Regions from separate parts of the Homo sapiens genome. Here region 2 is linked to region 1. Evidence: promoter capture Hi-C in human tissues and cell types (Jung and others, 2019). All regions are on one chromosome and are shown on one strand. Each heading gives the region's core, a stretch centred on a gene start or on the middle of the fragment in contact. The rest is flanking DNA. Distances are from core to core; before and after follow the strand shown.

Evidence for each region. Contacts are between HindIII fragments. The study calls those that stand out against the background at their distance.
Region 2: a contact is called between a fragment that was not itself captured here and the fragment with the promoter of FOXL2 in region 1, in 2 of the 25 tissues and cell types used here (H1 embryonic stem cells and thymus).

The regions. Positions count from the first base shown.
Region 1 is chr3:138,944,344-138,950,191 of GRCh38, forward strand. FOXL2 (forkhead box L2) reads right to left here and starts at 2,794. Exons shown (of 1, transcript NM_023067.4): 1 at 1-2,794. The coding sequence starts at 2,379. The coding sequence ends at 1,249. FOXL2NB (FOXL2 neighbor) reads left to right here and starts at 2,874. Exons shown (of 3, transcript NM_001040061.3): 1 at 2,874-3,121; 2 at 5,177-5,296. The coding sequence starts at 3,022. RefSeq lists an enhancer at 180-769 and a silencer at 2,810-3,038. The HindIII fragment of the contact is 6,167 bases long and covers 1-5,460 here.
Region 2 is chr3:139,034,384-139,041,410 of GRCh38, forward strand. No RefSeq gene overlaps it. Among named protein-coding and RNA genes, the nearest start is that of PRR23C, 7.0 kb to the right of the region's middle. The HindIII fragment of the contact is 8,593 bases long and covers 1-7,027 here.

The DNA.
Region 1 (5,848 bases), core at 1,544-4,043:
GCTACAGTACAACCAGGTCTATGGTTTTCGGGCCGGGCCGGCTCCGGGCCACAAGACCGCCTAGGTCGGCCGCTGCCGGGTTTCACATTTCTCCTTCCCAAGGTGGGAGAAGCAGGAGGTTTGAAAAACAAAAAGCAGGGAGGACGAGCCGTCCCAGCAGCGTGGGCCAGGCAGGCAGTGATCTCCCTGCCTCCAGGACTTGCATCGAAAGATCCGGGGACATTTGTTTTTGATTTTTTTCTTCAGATAGGGAGAGGGTGAAACTTCCCCAATTGGTAGACGAAACCATCTTTTATTGGATATATTCTCCTAACTCTGAACACAGCTTTTTGAAGGCCCAACAAAAACTCTAACGCAAATCTTCCAGAAGAGAAGATGAGGAATACTAAAGCTTTTGATTTTCATATTTGGATTTAGCAAACTCCAAGGCCACAATACTTCCCCGGTTGCCCGGTGAATTTTTTTTCCTTTTTTTTTTTTTAAATACTCTCTTAAAAAGTTCCACCGATCTTTCAAACAAAACATTAGCCAGCCGCCGGGGCCCGGAGGTGCCCGAAGCGACGGGACTGATAGCGGAGGAAACGCAGCCTCCCTCCGCGCCCGCCCGCGGTGTAAACCGAGTACAGGCCGTGGAGCCAGGCTGCCCCGGCTCCCGCTGGGTCCCAACCCCCGCCCCGCCTAGTGGGCCCCGCGGCAAGCGGCTTCTGAACAGCTTCAAGAGGGTTCGCGGAGCAAACACACGTATTGGTCCGTCCCTTTCTCGGGCAGCGCGGTCCCGCCATCAGTCCTGTCCGGCGCGTCTAGCCATGGACTGCACGGCAGTCGGGCGGGGAACGCGGAGAGCGAGCGCACCGACCTGTGAGAGAAGGCCAAGAGGTCTGCGCTGCCGACGCCCGGTCGCACCTCCGCCCCGGGCCCTTTCCGCGGTGAATTTGGGCAGGAGACGCTGGGGCTCCGGAAAGAGACGAGCCCAGTAGAAAGCGCGCAGAGAGGCAGCTTCAGGCCAGGGGAGTGCAAGGTCACAGAGGTCAGGGAGGTGAGCACAGGAGGACATAAACTGAGGGGACAAAGAGGAGCGACAGGAGCTTAGGAAAGCGAAAAAGCACAGAGGGACCCTGGGCGCTGGCTCCAGAGGCGGGCCCAGAGGGTGTGAGGTCAGGCTGGCGGCGGCGTCGTCGGCTGCGACCGGGGCCGGCGTCGCGCGTCCCTGCATCCTCGCATCCGTCTGCACCGGCATGCGGTGGGCTCTCAGAGATCGAGGCGCGAATGCAGCGCGCCGGTCTTGCTGTCGTGGTCCCAGTAAGAGCAATGCATCATGGCGAGCTCGGGCTGCCGGGCACAAGCGAACTGCAGGCCCGGCGCACTGGTGGGCGCGGGCGCCGGGGGCGCGGCGGTGGCTGGGCTGGCAGGGCTGAGCTGGCCCGGCGGCGGCGCGGCGGCCCCGTGGTGCGGTGGGGCAGGCGGCGGTGCGGCGGCCGCGTGCAGATGGTGTGCGTGCGGATGCGGGTGGGGGTGCGGCGGAGGCGGGGGTGCGGCCGGCGGGCCTCCCAGGCCATTGTACGAGTTCACTACGCCGGGGGGCAGCGCCATGCTCTGCACGCGTGTGTACGGCCCGTACGAGGCGGCCGGGCCCGCCAGCCCCTTGACCACAGCGGCCGCGCCAGGGCTACCGGGGCCCGCGGCTGCAGCCGCAGCTGCTGCAGCCGCTGCGGCTGCCGCCATCTGGCAGGAGGCATAGGGCATGGGTGAGGGAGGCTGCGGTAGCGGCCACGAGTTGTTGAGGAAGCCAGACTGCAGGTACTTGGGGGGCGCCAGGTAGCCGTAGCCGTCGGCCCCGGCGCCCGCCACGCCGCACCCGCCTGCGGCGCCTCCGGCCCCGAAGAGCCCCTTGCCGGGCTGGAAGTGCGCGGGCGGCGGCCGGAAGGGCCTCTTCATGCGGCGGCGGCGCCGGTAGTTGCCCTTCTCGAACATGTCTTCGCAGGCCGGGTCCAGCGTCCAGTAGTTGCCCTTGCGCTCGCCGCCGCCCTCGCGCGGCACCTTGATGAAGCACTCGTTGAGGCTGAGGTTGTGGCGGATGCTATTTTGCCAGCCCTTCTTATTCTTCTCGTAGAACGGGAACTTCGCGATGATGTACTGGTAGATGCCGGACAGCGTGAGCCTCTTCTCCGCGCTCTCGCGGATCGCCATGGCGATGAGCGCCACGTACGAGTACGGGGGCTTCTGCGCCGGGTCCGGCTTCTCCGGGGCTGTCCCGCCGCCACCCCCACCGCCCTTGCCTGGGCTCGGCGGCGGCCCTTCTGGCTCCTTGACTGTGCGACCGGTCTCTGGGGCCAGCAGGGCCCCCGCCGCGTCCTCGGGCTCGGGGTAGCTGGCCATCATGACAAAGCCGGCGCGCCGCGGCCGGGCCGCCTCTGCTCTCCGCTCCAGGCGCTGGCGCGGCAAAGAGTTGGGGCGCACGAGTCCGCTTACGGCCAAGTCTCAAACTTCTGGAGACTGCGGATGCCGCCCGCGCTTGCTTGCTGGAGGCCTGTCGCTGCTCTCCCCTCTCCTTCCCCTTCCCCTAGGGAGCGGCCGGCGGGAGTGGAGCTCAGCCTCTGGCCATGGGGAGTCCGCCCAACAGAGAGGGGCTCCGGCCTCGCCGCCCCTCCCCGCTCAGGCCAGTCCCCGCCTTGGTGGGTTTTCTTTTCTGCGCTCTTCCCCTCCCCCCGCCCCCCGGTTTCCCGAAGCACGACCCGCGTCTCTGGCGGAGCTGCCTCCTGGAGTCCCTAGTGCGCCAGGAGCCTCGCTCTGTTCTGATTCGTATGGGCTCCACCGAGTTCCGCTTGCGTCAGGCGCCTTCGCCCCTATAGCGGGGCGGCCAGCCGCGCACGGGCGAGTTCATCTCCAAGTCACTTTTTGTAAACGCCCCGCACAGCCTGGACCGGCCTGCCCCCGCCCAGCGAGCCTCAGGGGCCCAGCCGACAGCCAGGCTCACGCGCCCTTGAAATCTGCCGGTACTCGCTCTGCGGGCTGGGCTGGGAGATGACGAGGACCCCGGTGGGGTCTGCCCGCACCCGGCCAAAGCCCAGGAAGCTCGGGCCCCAGCGAGGAAAGGCGCTCCAAGCCTCCTCGCGGCTTTCAGGTGAAAGAAAACGACTCCTTTGCTCTGCCGTTTGCTGCCGTCTTGAGGCTGAACTTCTAGCTCGGGGCTGGGGAGGGGCGAGACGGCGAGGGGGCTGGACGGGGTAGGGTGGGGAGAGCTGCTCTGAGGCTTTGGGAAAGTCAGCCCAGAAACGGGTGTGACTGTACGAAGAAGCCTCGGCCTGGCCTGTCCCTCGCGCTCTCAGAGTGACTGGGCTGGAATGGGGCAGGGGAGAGGATCTCTGGAAATAGTCGTCAGGGGCGCCGCCTGAATCACCTCTGCCTCTCCCTGCGTTACCAGTGGATCTAGGAACCAGGAATCCGTGTACTAATCCTACGGGGTTGGAGTGAAGGTTGGATGTGTGCTTTAACAGCACCAAGTAGATGCCCCTCAGCTATTGCACTAACACAGGCGGGGCTGTTGCCCGGGACTTTGCGGGACTGTGTATGTGTGTGCACAGGGGTCACATATGGAAGTCATGGAGAGGAGCTGTCCTTGAGATGGGTGAGATACCAGGTGCATGTGTGCTGCTCAGAAACACAGGTATGCACATGTACAAGGTGTGAGATTTGTATTTACGAGGTAAAACACACTTATACTGATAGTTATGTAATATGTTCATCAAGTATTAGAGTAAATGTAGCTGGTGGATATAGCATCTTCTCTTTTTCTCCTTTCTTACTTCTTTCCTTCCCCCCTTTCTTCCTTTCTTTCACAATTCTTCGATGCCTCTTTCCCTCCCAGTGTATGTATTTTGCCACAGACTGGGAAGACAAACATCAGGCTGAGGGAGGGACTTGTTCAAATCTCTCTCCTGATGAGACATTTGTTCTGATCTTTCTCCAAAGAATCAGGAGTTAGTTGTCACCTACCTTAAGCAGAATTCTGATGGGAATCCAATTATTTCAGCATGTACAGAGATTGTTTCAGGGAAAATCAGGTGTGCCTTTTAACAGTGTGCTCCTTAACAGTGCCTTTTAACTTGGCCTAAACAAAAAGTCTGCAGTCATAAAGTATGAGAGAGATGGCCAGTGTTTTGAATCCTCAAGCCCCAAACTCCTTGGTGCTGAGGAGGGGGGCAAGGCCACCTTATGGAGGAAGGTGGACTGAATGGATGTCATATAGCTGTGCATTAGTGATTGGCATGTCTGGAGTGGCTGACTCAATGCCTGTCACTGCCTCTTCCTCCCAGGCTGTTTAGACTCTGAGGGTTCTCCTGAAGCCCAAGGAGCCTTCAGCGGCCTGTGGTTCCAGCATCCACAGGCCATCTACAAGTGTTGTCTGCTGCTCACTCAGGCCTCTGATCTGCATTCTGAGATGAAAGGGAGGGAGGACAAGGGTGGTAGGGCTCTTTGGAATTCAGCATCTTGAAGATGACACCAGAGAGGTCAGCAGGGCAGCCCTTGCCTGGTCACAAGGATGAGAGGGAGCAAGGCTATCCCCAAAGTAGCTTGGTTTTTTTTATGGGCGGTCTCCCACTGCACCCAACAGACATGGGGGAAGCAGCACTTCCGCAGAATCCCTGCTGCTGCTTTCTGAGCAGGAGTGCAGATGTTTTTCTTCTTCCTTACCCCCATCCTTGCCCAAGCTTTGGGTGGGAGTGGTGAGTCCGGTTTGGGGCTGCTGCAGATTGGCCTCAGTGCCTATCCTCCCCCAGCCAGGGCCTGGGCAGGGGGAAAAACAGCTGGGTCTGGCCCCATCCTGGTGGGGGCTCCTCTCTCCTTTTCTCTCCTTTTTTTTTTTCTTGACCACCCAGGCTGGCTCTCTGCGTCTCTCTGTCTTTCTTTCTTCTTCTCACAGGCATTTCCGCTGCTCAGCCCTGCAGCAGCCAGGTGTAACAGCATTGTTGTGTGTGTCATCACTTCCCTGAATTCCACACTCGGCTCCCTTTTCAGCCTTTAAAGAGCCTGTGTGTGTATGCATGTGCGTGTGTGTGTGTGTGTGTGTGTGTGTAGGGGTTGGGGGCAAATGAAGGAGTTCCTCTGAAGGATTTTCAGAATAGAAAGGAGTTCTGCTCTGAAAATACTGATTTCTGACTGTCCCGTAGAGGAACAGAATCCCCAGCCCTGGTGAAGAAGAGGATGCCTGATGCGTGCACCCTGGGAAGGGCTGGAATCGGTCTCCCCAAGATGTGCCTTCACATGGCTGTCCGGCATTCGAAGGCTCAGAAAACAGGCAAGAAAATGCGGGCGGGAAAGCTGGCAGAATGATTACTTTCAGGTCCCCTCCAGGCTTCTGCGGAAAAGCCAGGGGCTTCGGGCTGGAGATAGAGGAATCTAGGGAGAGAACAGAATCCTCTCCTTGCCGGCCCAGCCAGAGGTGGGTGAACCGGGCGCTCCAGGAAACGGTGCGGGGCGCCCTGATTTACTTCTCAACCTTCGGAGGTAGGCTGGTTGCTGGCGAGGTCGGGATCCTCTCTGAACAGGGCATACTGTGCCTAGGTTTTGTGGACGCCAGGGCCGGTTCCTTTTCTCCCCGCGGCATTGGGGCGACGCAGGGCCCCCGGCTTAGTGACCTTGGGGCGGCGCTCACCTCCAAAGGCCAGGGTGGTGGGCTGGGCAGAACTCACTGCCTCTTTGCCCCAGTTTTCCAGGGTCCCGCAGCTGCAATTCAGCAGCCACCGGCGCCTCCTGACCGTGGTCCCACCGTAGCGCCGCCTGCGGATACGGTTCCAGTGAACCGCCGATTGAGCGCAGTCTCAGCTCCCGCGCCTCCTCGCAGCCTGGC
Region 2 (7,027 bases), core at 2,937-5,436, 91 kb after region 1:
TCCTTGAAGTTAACTTCTCTAAAGGATCTTTTTTCTTATTTTTTTAAATATAGATTTTAAGAAGACTTTTTGCAACAGTTTTAGGTTTACAGAAAATTGAGTAGATAGCAAGGAATTTCCATATACCATCCCTCCCCCTCACAGTTTCCCCTTCTATTAACTCTTGCATTGCCATGAGACCCTTGTTAGAATTCGTAAGCCAATACTGATACATCATTATTAGCTAAAGTCCATAGTTTACACTGAAGTTCACTCTTTGTGTTGTACAGTTCTATGAGTTTTGAAAAATGCATAACGTCCTATATCTACCATCATAGTATTATCCAGAATAGTTTCATCCCCCTAGAGGTCCTCTGTGTTCCACCCATTCACTCCTCTTTTCACCTCCAAACACTTGACAACCACTAATATTTTTACTGTTTCCACAGTTTCATCTTTTCCAGAATGTCATAGAGTATGTAGCTTTTTCAGATTAGTTTCTTTCACTTAGTAATATGCATTTTAAGACTTCCCCGTACCTTTTCATGATTTGATAGATCATTTCTTTTTATAGCTGAATAATATTTCATTGTATGGATGAACTACAGTTTGTTTATCCATCTACCTATTGAAGGACAGCTTGGTTGCTTCCAGTTTTTGGAGCAATATGTTTTTAGTGGTTCCTATCAATTTGCGTTAAAACCCAAGGGCTTGTCCGGATTGCTTATGCACAAATAGACAAAGAGATTTTTGTAGTTTGGGATGCCTAGAGAAAGAGGCTGTTGAACGTCTTTTTCAGGTTACAGAAAACCTGTTCACTTTTGATTTCCTTAGGAGAGGGTCTCTTACTGAGGACTTAGTCAATTCATAAAACGGTATTTCAATCCTAGAAAAATTTGGCACTCATTGTCTGTAATATCCAGTTAAACTCCAAAATACTCTTAGTTGTCTTTTGTGAGGGGTCTAGAATATTTTTGGATAGTCTTTAGCGTATCAGTAGAGAATGGTTTATCTTCCTCAGTTAGGTCATGCTCTAAATAATAGGCTGCAGTTTGGAAAAAATTGTAAGTTATCTTTTGAAACGTTTATGTTTCTTTTCTGCTAAGGCTAGGGGCAACTAAACGGAATCCTTTTTATAGACTTCCTTGTTCTCTGAATAAAGTAGGATATCATTTACATTTTATGTCAGAACTGAATCGCAAGGGGAAATTTTAGGTCTTTTAAGTCTTGATTGAAGACCTGGGAAAATTGGAGGGGGCTCTAGTGAACTCCTGGGGTATGACTGTCTAAGTACATTATTGTCCGCCTTAGGTGAATGCAAAAAGGTATTGACTATCCTTATTCAGAAGTACACTGAAAGAGGCAGAGCAAAGATCCGATACTGTGAAGCAAATAACTTCAGGTGGAAATTTATGACAGAATGGTATTTGGGTCAAGTTCTATCAGGAAATGAAGTATAATGATTTTCTTGATGGCCTTGAGGTCTTGAACAAATTGGGTCAAGTTCTATCAGGAAATGAGGTATAACGATTTTGTTGATGGCCTTGAGGTCTTGAACAAATTGGTATCTTTGTCGCTTTGTTTCTTTACTCGGAGGATGGGAGTGTTACAACGGCTAGTGCAGAGTATGAGAAGACTTTTGTATGTAAGGCCTTTAACCATAGTTTGAGCCCTTCCTTTGGCTTCAAGGGATATTGGAGAAGTTTGAGTAATGGCTTGGTAGGATCTATCTGAACTTTTATAGATTCTGCTCTCGTTATTTTTCCTATGCCAGTGAAATTTTTAGCCCATAGAAGGTCATGGAATAGTGTCAAGATCTTTATCTGGGGTATGCATCAAATAAAATACAGAATGCAAAGGTATATTCAGAACAAACACAACTTGATTATGAATAGAGGAGTCCTCTGGAAACTTAAGAAATGCTCCCTCTGGTGTGCATTTATGATTGCAATCTCATGTATAAAGTATATCTCTCCTTATTAAATTTGCAGGTGTATTATCACAGAACAAGAAGGAATATTTCCAGGCAAAGGCCCAAGGGTTACAGTTAAAGGCTGGAAGACAGGGAAAATTTGTGTTATTTGAAATGCCTGCCACCTGTGCAGTACCATTACTCTGAAGAAGAGAGCACAAAGGCACAGTATTTAATGTAGAAATGGTAGCCCTTGCATTAATTTTTATTGGAAGTGTTTTGGGTATGGCTTCTCGGAGACTTCACCTTACTTTTCAGGGTTTTTCTGAACTGCAGGTTTTTTATGGAAAGAGATATCCTGTAGGTCCTCTGGGTCAGTCCAATCAACTTTTGCCATCTAGGATTTAGCATCTGTGGTTCTGACCCATATGTGTATGAGTTGATATAAGTCAGGTAATTCTGGGTCAGGTGTACCCAAAAGGATTTTAAACTATTCTATGAATATTTACTAGTCTTGTCTGCATTTAGGGAAACTTACAGCTCTTAATTCCGCTCAGGTCCAAGCTTTAAATTCGCCAGTTGTCTGAATACCTGGTTCATGGAGGGATGGGTCTTAAGAGGCAACTGGCATTTTAGGTTTTGGAGAAAGTTGTTGGGAAAAGGTAGGGGGCCTGAACAAGGACAACTGGAGGGAGGAGTTGATGGAGGTATAGAAGGAGAGAGATTGGGAGGATAAGGGGCAGAGGGAGATCTGGTTATAGAGAGGGAACTGGTGGACGAGGACAGAGGATTTACCAGGGAAATGAATCTAGTTCATTGTTGTCAAACTGCACATTAGCTTTGGCCAAATAATCTTTTAATGAAGCCATTTTCGATTTAGAGTTTCATCTGGAGACCTCTATATAACTAAAAATGCTGCTCATTGAACATGAGAAATTTTATTTCCATTTTTTTCTAAGGTGCCTCTCAAGTGAATGATTTCAAGTTAAATGTTCTCCACAGTAGCCATTAAAGGCTCACATCACCCTTGGTAAAATTATGCCATTTAGAAAGACAGGGACAAGAATTAGGATTCTAAATGAGAACACATATAAGAAGCAGGCATTTTTTTCTGTAAAAGGAGAGGATTTAGACTTAGATAACTCCATAAGAGATGGTGATGGTCAGCAAAATGTGGTGCTGGTGCTTCTGTGTCAGAGGCTCCCAAACTGATAGTCAGTGCCTCTGAATGTGGACTGTGGTAGATGGAAAACCAGAGAGAACACTTTCTGGATCAAAGCCAAGCTCTAAAAACAAAACATAAAAACAGGAAAACCTCACCCACTTTTATTGATAATCCACAGAAAAGTTTGTCCAAATGGAAGCTTATCTGGTGAGAACTGCAAACTCACCGACTGTGAGGCCTGCCCAACTCACCGGACTGTGAGGCTGGCTCAAACAACAGGCGTGTAGAGCCTATGACTGTGTTGTACCCTGCGATTTTCTTTCTTGTGATAAACAACAGTTTTAGACCATACAACACAAAATGGAAACACAAAAGCGAGTAAAAGGAGATGAAAAGAAATGGTTTGATTCCATCAAGGCTGCCGAACAAATGGAACTGATAACGAAACGTGGATACCAAACTGAGAGTAAATGGACAGGGAACTCAATGCAAAGAAAGAGTTCAGACCTAGTGCTGACTTACCACACTGGGCTGTGTGTACCATATCTCACAAAAAAATGGAAAATAAGCGAAGACCACCTAAATGGGAACAAGCAGAGGCAATTTATTTAGAGCTTTCTATAGCAAGGGAGTTAGCCCCATCACTTGCATTTGATAGAGACTTATTGGCAGGCAGGTGAGTTGGAAAATTTTATAGTGAAAAAGGGGAAGGCTTCAGATATGTCTGATTGGAAGTTGCTGGCATAGGGAAGCTGGAGGTGGACTAACTAGAGGTGGGGCATCCTATGTGATTGGTTGGTTTGTGCACCTTGTATCTTAGGCATAGCATATTTGGCTTTTTCTGGTTGGTCCTGAGTTGGAAGTGAGGGTGAGAATTAGAACACCTGGCAGTTATTGAACAAGTCTGGACCATTTTGGGGCCAGTTACTGCAGAGACTATGGTTTGGCTTCTGGGATAGTTGCTGCAGAGGTTATGGGTAAGATTTCTACTGTCATGTGTGGTCTGGACATTGTTCATTTGTATTTTCGGTCTCTCAGATCCCATTATCCCCTTGGCTACCAAGGAGTTCAGCTCTCTAATGGCATTTCCTGCCCTTACCTTGGCCTAATGGGTTTCTCAATGACCCCAGTGCCTCTCTAGGGCATTTGTTTGTTATGCAATGTCCCTTGAGGCCCTCCCACACATCATAGTAGCTGATGTATTTTACAGCCTTAGGTAGTATGTGCACTGTATCATATCCACTTCTCTGGATGTTTTGATCCTTTTCTCTGCTGTCTGCCTTGGCAGTTATGGCATTCCTACTTAACGTAGTATGGGACATCTTTTTCTCTAACCCTGCAAGATCCACCCATCAGATTGTTAGCACTCTCTTACAGCATCCTTGCTACGGTGTTAAATCATGTATCTTGGGAGAGTGCTTCTAAATTGAGAAACTCTCCCTTCTCTAGGCTAACATCCAGCATTCTCACTCTTATACTTGACTCCTGCTGTTATATGTTGGGTGACACCCACAGCAATTCTAGGGCATATAGAGCCCCTTTCCTTAGTTACAGGCCAGTATTTCCCTGGCTGGGTTATAACATGCTTTAGTTACTGGCCTGTGGCAAAGAGGAGGTAGTTCTCGAGGTGGGTGCATGTTATCTTGCTAGGCAGAGGCTTCTGCAACATCTTATGCAAGGATGGAGTGCCAACCTTTAATAGAGAGGAGTAGGCCACTTCTACAGGCCAAGAGGATTGAAGGGGGTTTGGGATTCAAGATATTCAAGTGAATCTACTTGGTTATCTTCATCCAGTGTTTCAGGGCTCAGTCTGGGCTGGGACCTTACCATTACAGACTTTCCTAGTTTGAGGATTCAGCCTTTATACTGCCACTATCCTTGCAGTAAACTCTGGGCCAGATCCTCAGTTGTGTTTCCCCCCGTTAGCTACAGGAGATGAAAGGCTATTTGTATGCTGCCAAGGAATGTGTCTAGATTTCATATTTGGGTTTTATTGGTAATTAATCACCCTCCGACTTTCACTTTCTTTCTCAAATGCATTTATTGTCCCAGAAACAGCTATTCAATTCCCCATTATTTATAACTATCATGCATATAATTACTCTGTGCCCCCAATTTTTCTAATGCCTGGGATTCTGCCAATGCCAGTATGTTGCCTTCTTCCACATTCCCAGTTAGTTTGCCATTGATTAAGATCTTATTTGCTTTCCTGTAACATGCCATGGGCTATTCATGCTCCATGATTCAGCTCTGAAATCCATTTTAGTGGCTACTTCCTATGACAGCCCCTGGCACCAGCTATCTTAAATTGGCTTGGGAAGACTTTGCAATGGAGATTTGCATGCAGAAATTTTGGGGAACAAAGAAAATGTGACAGGACAGATGGAGGATTGAACTGGGATGCAGCTGCAACAAAGCCTCAGCCAACTCACTGAGAGCCCTAGAATTGGGATGATTCTTCAGAGTTGTCTCAACTTAAAGCAAGTGAGCTGGACCTGTATACCCTCTAATTGAACAGTTATTGGCATGAATTACCCACAGAGGCTGAGGGTAATTCCTGGAGAACAACTGAATTTAGCTGCTAATACTCCCAGCAGTCTTGATGGGATTGGGACTATGGACAGTCCAGCCCAGTGTCACTACTGCATTGAAATTGGAAGTTGGGCCATGTATGATTACTTGAGGATGGGAACTGTGATTTTTGAGTTGCAAATCATATGAGCTCCATAATGTTTGGCTCTGAGTCTTGACTCCTAGGGAGCAAGAAAGAGGCAAATGTAAAATTCAAATAAGGAGCAGACATGCCTGTAATCCCACTACTTTGGGAGGCCAAGGTAGGAGGATCGCTTGAGCCCAGGAGTTTGAGATCAGCCTGGGCAACAGAGAAGATTCTCTCTACAAAAAATAAAAATATAAAACATTAGCCAGGTGTGGTGGCATGTTCCTGTAGCCCCAGCTACTGGGGAGGCTGAGATGGGAGGATTGCTTGAGCATGAGAGGTCAAGGCTGCAGTGAGCACTGCACTCCAGCCTGAGAGACAGAGTGAGACCCTGTCTCTAAAAAACAAAACAAATTTGGAACAGAAAATGAATGCACATTCAAAATATGTCCACATACCAAATTTTTGCCCAGGGGAAAATCAGTGTCATTAAATGCTATCAAATAATTGGAGATGTTATGCCTGAGGAAATATAATTATTGAGCTAATTAATATAGAATTTAAAATAAGAGTGTTTAATTTCTTCTAGAGATAAAGGAGGAGATAACATCCGTGAAACTAGAAAAATTTATATGACATTGATCAGAAGTTGTGAAATAAGAGCATATAGATATTAAAAACCCAAGTAATCAGAAGTCTTAAAAATGAAAAATGCAGTATTTGAAATAAAGTCTTATAAAGAACAATAAATGAATTCTGAAAACAGACAATGACAGAATCAGTTAATTGGAAGAGCGAAAGTGTGCTATGATACAGGATATGAAAATATAGATATTAAGAGATCTGGGAGAGGGCATTGATTAAGCAGCACAATTTCTCTATTAGGAGTTTCAGAGATTGGAGAGAGGTTTAAATGTGCAAGAGATATATATTTTTTGAGATCTTATGGAAGAATTAACTTCCCATCTATAGAAAGCTCACTGAGTTGCAGCTGGCAAAAGTCTACCAACAAACACATCAGGTTTAATGAAACCATAGGGCATCAAAGTCAAGAAAAATACTAGTGTAAGCAGCCTAATCCTGTTAAAGGAATGGCAATGCAAATGACAACTTCTCACCTGCAACAATAAATGTCATGTAAAATAATAGAATTATCTTTAAAGTAGTGAGAGAGTATAGGATTTATTTTAGAATTCCAAACCCAGCTACAATACTACAAGTTTGAAGGTGTAATTTAAATATTTGCAGACATACGAACCCAAGATTTACCACATAAACCACGGCTGAAAGAATTCTTAAAAAGTATACCATG